Linked DNA regions of Homo sapiens: region 2 is linked to region 1. The links are contacts of gene promoters, found by promoter capture Hi-C in blood cells and fetal thymus (Javierre and others, 2016). All regions are on one chromosome and are shown on one strand. Each heading gives the region's core, a stretch centred on a gene start or on the middle of the fragment in contact. The rest is flanking DNA. Distances are from core to core; before and after follow the strand shown. Region 1 holds the start of SCN2A (sodium voltage-gated channel alpha subunit 2). Region 2 overlaps COBLL1 (cordon-bleu WH2 repeat protein like 1).

Region 1 (3,549 bases), core at 760-3,259:
TATGTACAATCTTTTCTATTAGGTAGGAGGGAAAGCCATGTGGCCATCCACATCATTCATGAGCATAGGGTAGAAGAGTATACACCACCTAATAATGAAAAAGGCATACTAAGAAACAGAGTTTCCATAGTTGTCATTCAGTTTTCTTGGATGCTTTGACAAGAAACCTAAGAAAATTGAGCACTGCATATAATATGCCATTGAGCAACAGTATACTGAAAGAAACTCTATTTTACAGAATATAACCAAACACACACACACATGCACACACACACACACACACACACGCACAGTGAATATCATCATACCTGGTCTATGCCATCCTGATATGTTCACACTAGAGGTGAATTGTGTTACTGCTATGGAAGATGTGGAACTGTCAATCACTGTTCTAGCCTTGCCTTATTGTAATTTAGTACGTGACTCTGGGAAATCCACCTTATCTCTCAATTACAATTGCTTTTCTTTAAATGATAATGGGGATAAATGGTTAAATATCTGTAATTCTAAAAATCTCCATGTATATGGAGCCATGTAGAACTACAAACTCTATAGATTCCACACATTTAAAAAACATGTTTTTTTCATGGTTTGTCCAAACCATTTTATAAAATCATTCCCCATAGCTTTCACAACCTCTGACATGGCAAAACTACCTCTTTACAGGAAAACAATGACTGAGATAAAAACATCCTGATGCACCTCCACCGCCTGCCACCTCCACCATCACACACACACACACACACACACACACACACACACAGCTCTTTCCACAGGAGAAAGAAGTGAGGCATTTAAAAACAATCTTACAAAACTATTTTTAAAATATTTGTAAAATCTCTTTAAATTTCTCTAAATGAAAATCAGTGGTTTTTAAATATAGGATTTCTATATGTCTTTATTCCTGTTATTCTAATAATAATCAAGCAAGGATTTAAGGGAAATCACGAGAAGCAGCAGAGAGAAGCAAGGCTGTTGCATGCAACTTCCACCTCCTGAGTCATTCCACTCTTTAACACAGATAATGTCACATGACCTAAAATAATTTAAAATGTGAGCACCTTCTATAATATCAACTATTTAAAATGGCCACGGTTCTATTATCCCAAATCCAATAAAATACAGAAAAAATCAATTTTCATGGCAATTAATTTGTGTTCAGCATACTCCTCACATCCATACTGGGGGAGGAGGGAGGGTCTATAGTCTCATTCCAAGTCTATTAAACACATTACATAAATCTTGATTCATGTGGGAGAAATGACTTACGTATTATTTCTAAGAGGTAAAAATAAAGACATAAACAATCTGTACCATCATAGCCAGCAGAAATCGTTCAAAAGGCCTTTGGACTCAGAATATTGGCTTGCCTCTGAGGCTGCAATCAGAAGGCTCAGCCCTGAGCTTTGGCAGAGCCACTGCCATGTTAATCTGCTTCATTATATCTCTACAATTTGTTCACTGCATTAAGGAGCAGTATTTCCCTTGTGAAAGGAAAACCCATCCTTCACTTTGAAAGCTTTACCTTTAAAAGGTAAACAAATACAGCCAGAGACAGAGACCAACAGCTAGAAAGCCAAAGAAATAATAAAACACGGTATGTCATAGTCAGAGCTCATTTCAGCCTAGGAAGATTTTAAATTGCACAACAGCTAGAATTAGAGCTTTTGAATCTCTTAGATCTGAATACAAGCTAACAAAGCACACATCTTATATTAAATGTCATTCTTAACATAGATAACAATCCGTGGATAAGTCAAAAATAGAATCATGCTGGCTTACCTGAAATAAAGAAAAATGTAAATCATAACACAGAATCCACGTATGTGTTGAATATAACAGTCTCCAATGCAATTCTTCAGAATTTTTACTGGAGTAGAAAGTAAAATCTCACATGTGCTCTATCCTCATTAAAGAAGAAAAAAACAAGAAAGGATGACCACAGCATCCTCCCTCCTTTGCCTTAGCTTTCTGTTCTGACAGTCATTCGATGGTACCCAATGTCTGTTAGAAAACAGCATGCTAAATTAGAAAAATAAATAAATAAAGGCAGCATCTTACATGACAGCTCCATCTCCTGGTCAAAAGTGGAACCATCTTAATTCACGTTCCTTTGGCTATGTAGCAGTCAGCACATAAAATTAAATGATGTACAGCCCATAATTCCACTCTATTTGAAATCAACTACTTTAATTAACTGTAATTTAAACATTTAAGAAGAATTATAGTATGAATTTTTAGAATTATAATTCTATTTTGGGGATTCAAATTTCTTTACATTATGTTTAAACTAAATGGAAGCTTTTCCCATCATTGAAAACTTAAGATTTATTTAACTTTATATACCATCTGAAAAAGTAATATGTATCTCCTATAAAACAATTTTAGATGTCAAGCTTATTGATAATGAACATCACATCTCTTTGTGGAGAAGTATAAGTTTTTGTCACTAGAGAAGTTAACACATAACACTTGTGTTGCTATTGTTTGGAGGAATGTTGAAAGGTTAAAGATAAGGCAGGAAAATTAAATGACTTAAAGGCAAACTTGAAAAATCTTTAGTTAATCTAATCTAACTACAAAAATACAGACGACAAGTTACATGCAACATGAAATTTGATAATTGTAGTAGTATACTATAGTGTGTAGTTACATCTTCTTAGAGAGATAAGAGAAAATTAAATTGTCAAAAGAATCCATTTGGTAAATGACACCATTTATAGAATCAAAGTTTTACTGAGCATATGATGTTCTCAATATATGTTTGTTTAATTAATTATTCTTCTTATGAACAGTTGTGAAGGCCAGGATCATTTTTTTAAAATTTGAAGTAAAAGGATAGGCATTTTTTTTCTCCCACTTTTTTACAACACCATTTTAATTTGGGGCCAAATCGATCTTTAATTTCCTATTGCAGTAACGCTGTCCATGGTGCTGAGAACCAATTTTAGAACTCATGGTGAGTTCTAGGTCTTAAACGGGTCTGAAATACTGTCTTTGTCAGATTTGATATAAAATTTACCATTAAAAGTCCCCAGATCAGCCAGAATAATTGATAGTATCTAATATAAAAATAGTTAAGTAATTTTTTTATCCACAAAATATGTATATACACATGTCCATCAGAAGCCAAAATGCTGATAAATACATTTAATAAAATACATGATTGCAAGCTACACTTTCTTTGGATTCATAATATTTTATTTTCTGTGTGCTAAAGTTATACTGAATAGATTGCTTTAACATAAGGTTGTTCCCACACTATTAAATAGACGAGGAAACCAAAGCCCACTCTTCAGTAACTTATCCAGTATTAATAAGCAAGTCAGAAGAACAAACCCAGTTTCTTAAATTTTACCTTACTTCCATTTCTACAACATTATTAAGATGTATTAGTTTGGTTATGAAAATATATTTTTAACACTGAACAAATAAATAATTAAAGTGACTTGGTAGATCAAATTATTTTAATGTATACACTCAACTATTTCATCTCACAAGTTTCCTGCACTATCATAAGATACATAAGCTCTCAGGGCACATAATTAT
Region 2 (3,632 bases), core at 263-2,762, 510 kb after region 1:
ACTGTAAAACACAAACCATAGAAAGATCCACATGGAGCTTACTTTGGTGTAAGGAATCAGGTTAGATACACAACTTTTCTTTTTCATCCGATAGTTTTCCCAGTACCACTTACTGAAAATTCAGTTGTTTCCCCAGAAACAATTCATATGCAGTATTAAATTCACATATGTAGTTATGTCTATTGCAGAACTTTCTGGATTGCTGCATTTATTTGTCTGGCAATAGGAATATTTTCAAGACAAATTTGGCTTCTGAAATTATTGAATAAAGAATTGGACCTAGAATTATAAAATGAGAGAATAAACTCATAAAGAACTTCTGTGGTTTTCAGTTGCCTCTCAAAGAGGCATTTTTAGTAGAAAACATATAGGCAGTGTTGAGTGCAAAGGTCATGATATAGTCGGCAACTTTTTTCTCATGATATCTGATATAGTGTGTAAAGTTTCTAGATAAATAAAATGACTGAGGGAATAGGCCATTATGTTAATATTCTTAACCAATTACCCACACTATTTATTAGATTAGAAAATTAATTTATCACAGATAGAAATACCAATGTTTCTACACAAGGAATCAAATTGTTCTTTTTAAAAAAATCAAAAATGTATTTTAAATGTTTATATGTTTATACATAAACGATGAAAATTATGGCACAAAAATAGGGATAAAAACCAAACAAAACTTTAATAATTTTTTGTTTTGTGTTTTGTTTTGTTTTGTTTTTTGAGATGGAGTCTTTCTCTGTTACCCAGGCTGGAGTGCAGTGGCGTGATCTCGGCTCACTGCAAGCTCCGCTTCCCAGGTTCACGCTATTCTCCTGCCTCAGCCTCCCAAGTAGCTGGGACTACAGACACCTGCCACCATGCCTGGCTAATTTTTTGTATTTTTAGTAGAGATGGGGTTTCACCACGTTAGCCAGGATGGCCTTGATCTCCTGACGTCATGATCCGCCTGCCTCGGCCTCCCAAAGTGCTGGGATTACAGGCGTGAGCCACCGCACCCGGCCATTTGTCTTGTTAACTTATGTATTTCTGGCAAAGATTCAAAAAAACTGTATATTTAAGAAGTAAAAGATGTTGGAAGAATGAGCTTCAATGTTTTTACATTTATTACTTGACACATTTATATATAGAGAGAAAGAAATACAGTCTGCATGTATCATCATTTACTCATAGACAACAGCAGACAGCTACCCCTTCAGTTGGCAATGAAAGTTCTCTTCTCTTCCAGCTAAACTGCATTTATAATAGTATATAACTAGACATTACCTAATCCTTCTTAACTTTATTTACTATCAAAGAAAGTACTATTTCCAAGTCTAGAATTGGTATGTGCCATCCAATTGCTCTTGTAGAGTACCATATTACCAAAAAATCAACTTCCACAAGACCATTTTGCTAGTCTCTCTCTGGATGAAATTTAAAATGTCCTGTTTAAAGCCAAAACATGGGCAATATAGATACATTTATGGGCATAGCCTGTGGCTCAAAAGAAGGATGTAAAACTCTTAAATATTATGCAACCATCTAATAAAGACACAGGAAATGTATTTTGAGAATTGAAATGTATTCCTGAGAATTTTTTTTAAATTGAGGGACTTAGAACCTTTGATTTATTTATTTTTCTTTATATATATACAAGTAATAGGGTGCTACTTGTATGTGGGGGAGAAGGGATGTGTGAGGGACCGTTGAGAAACATACTCCTTATCCCATAAAGATTGGACTGGCCTAGGAGTAGGCAGCGACCACAGAAAGTAGAGATGGGGGCTGAACACGGGATGATCTGAAATCTATGTAACGTGTTGTTTGACTTCAAGACCACACAGTGTCCGACAGTGAATCCTTCCCCACCTCTGCAGGAGACTCCTTGTCTGGAAGAACTGCATCAGAGGCTGCAGGCCTGGGAGCTTACTAGGGGTGACGTGCCGTATGAAAACAGGTGCACTAAAATAAAAGTAGCATACTGAATGGTGGGATTTCTAGCCCCATTTCCCTGTCAAGTTCCCAAAAGCCAGTAACCAGGTTTATATCTCTAGTCAAGAAATTGGAGAATAACTTTTTACTGATATGTGCATTTCCCTTTCGAGGTGGGATGCAGATGGCTGGCTACCCGATTACCCTAAAGTGAATCCCATGAACCTATGCCTCCATCTGTAAAAATACGATGTACACACTGCGGTTTAGTGCCTTATTCTTAAGTGTGAACTAACAGTTTAGGATCACCTGACATTTGGGGAAAGCACATGATACCAAAGATTTTTTAGTGTGCTTTCCTTAAGGGATGACAGTATTAAGAAAGACTCAGAGACTATGTTGTTCTGTCAGTGATATGAATGAAAATATAAGTCTGTGTCAACAATGAGAATCTATGGAAAGGGAAGCAAAAAATTGGTAAGTATCCCTGAATTCCAAGTTGGGTATGAAAGTTTCTATAGAAATAAGTCCTGTATTACCAATAGTATTAAACATTCATTCATTATTTGAAATTATCTCATGCATTTACTTTATTTCAATTTTATGTTCTAGCACAAGAGCTGATAAGCGTTTTCTATCATGGGCCAGGAAATAAAAATAGTAGGCTTTGTGGGCTATGCCTATATAGTAGGTGTGGTCACCCTACTCCATTCTGCTGTTGTAACTAACACAAAAGCAGCCTGAGACGTTATATAAACAAACGGGCATGACTATTTTCTAATACAACTGTATTTACAAAAACAGACTGTGGGCCCATTTTGACCTGCACATTGTGGTTTGCTGACACTTGGTTTAGTTCATCCAGTAGAGTGTTAGATCTATGAGAACAGATATACTATAATACTTGTACTGTGATTCCAGTGCCTAGAGAATATTCATAACCTTTGGATGATTAAAGAATTTGTACTACACCTTTTAGGATTTTGTGGACTTCCTATGCAGATATTTACAGTCTGTTTTCTAAAGCCAAAAAGTGGTGGTGGTGGTTCCAAATGCTTCATTCTTATGAGAACTTTGTAACCAATTCATAAGCTAAAGACTGCCAATGTTATATTACAAATAATGTGTTGTGAAGGACTGCTCTTGGGTAAGGAAAGGACTCCTCCTCCTGAAATTTATAATTTGGAAACAATTTGGTAAAAACATAAAAGTAGTTGTTGAACTGACACTAGGATCTATGCTCTCTTGACTATCCCAGGACTTTTTAACTATTACAATTTTGTCTGTTTAAATATCTTGTAGTTCAATTTTTTTGGAGATTATTTTTGTTGTTGTTGTTGTTGTTGTTTTTATTGTTATTATTATTATGACAGGGTCTTGCTCTGTTGCCCAGGCTGGAGTGCAGTGGCGCGATCTCGGCTCATTGCAACCTCAACTTCCAGAGCTCGTGTTGTTCTCTGGCCTCCACCTCCTGAGTAGGTGGGACTACAGGCACACACCCACCACAGCAGGCTATTGTTTTTTTTTTTTATTTTTTGTAGATACAGGGTCTTGCCATGTTGCCCAGGCTGGTCTCCAACTCCTGGGCTCAAGCAGTCCTCCTGCCTTGGCCTGTAGCTTGACCTGTAGTTCAATATTTAAGCTGCTTTTCCAAAAACTATCTTGTAGACTTGTTTATCTATTGAAGACAAGCATTCTAAGAAAATCCTCAAAAC

Evidence for each region. The method cuts DNA at HindIII sites, captures the fragments that hold promoters and counts their contacts. A CHiCAGO score of 5 or more calls a contact.
Region 2: a fragment that was not itself captured here is called in contact with the fragment with the promoter of SCN2A in region 1 in 3 of 17 cell types (naive B cells, total B cells and fetal thymus); the score reaches 6.4 in naive B cells.

Annotation. Positions count from the first base shown.
Region 1 is chr2:165,237,874-165,241,422 of GRCh38, reverse strand. It overlaps SCN2A (sodium voltage-gated channel alpha subunit 2), which reads right to left and starts at 2,009. Exons shown (of 27, transcript NM_001040142.2): 1 at 1,783-2,009. The HindIII fragment of the contact is 782 bases long and covers 1,522-2,303 here.
Region 2 is chr2:164,730,149-164,733,780 of GRCh38, reverse strand. The region is part of intron 3 of COBLL1 (cordon-bleu WH2 repeat protein like 1); the gene reads left to right. Among named protein-coding and RNA genes, the nearest start is that of SNORA70F, 44 kb to the right of the region's middle. The HindIII fragment of the contact is 6,157 bases long and covers 1-3,632 here.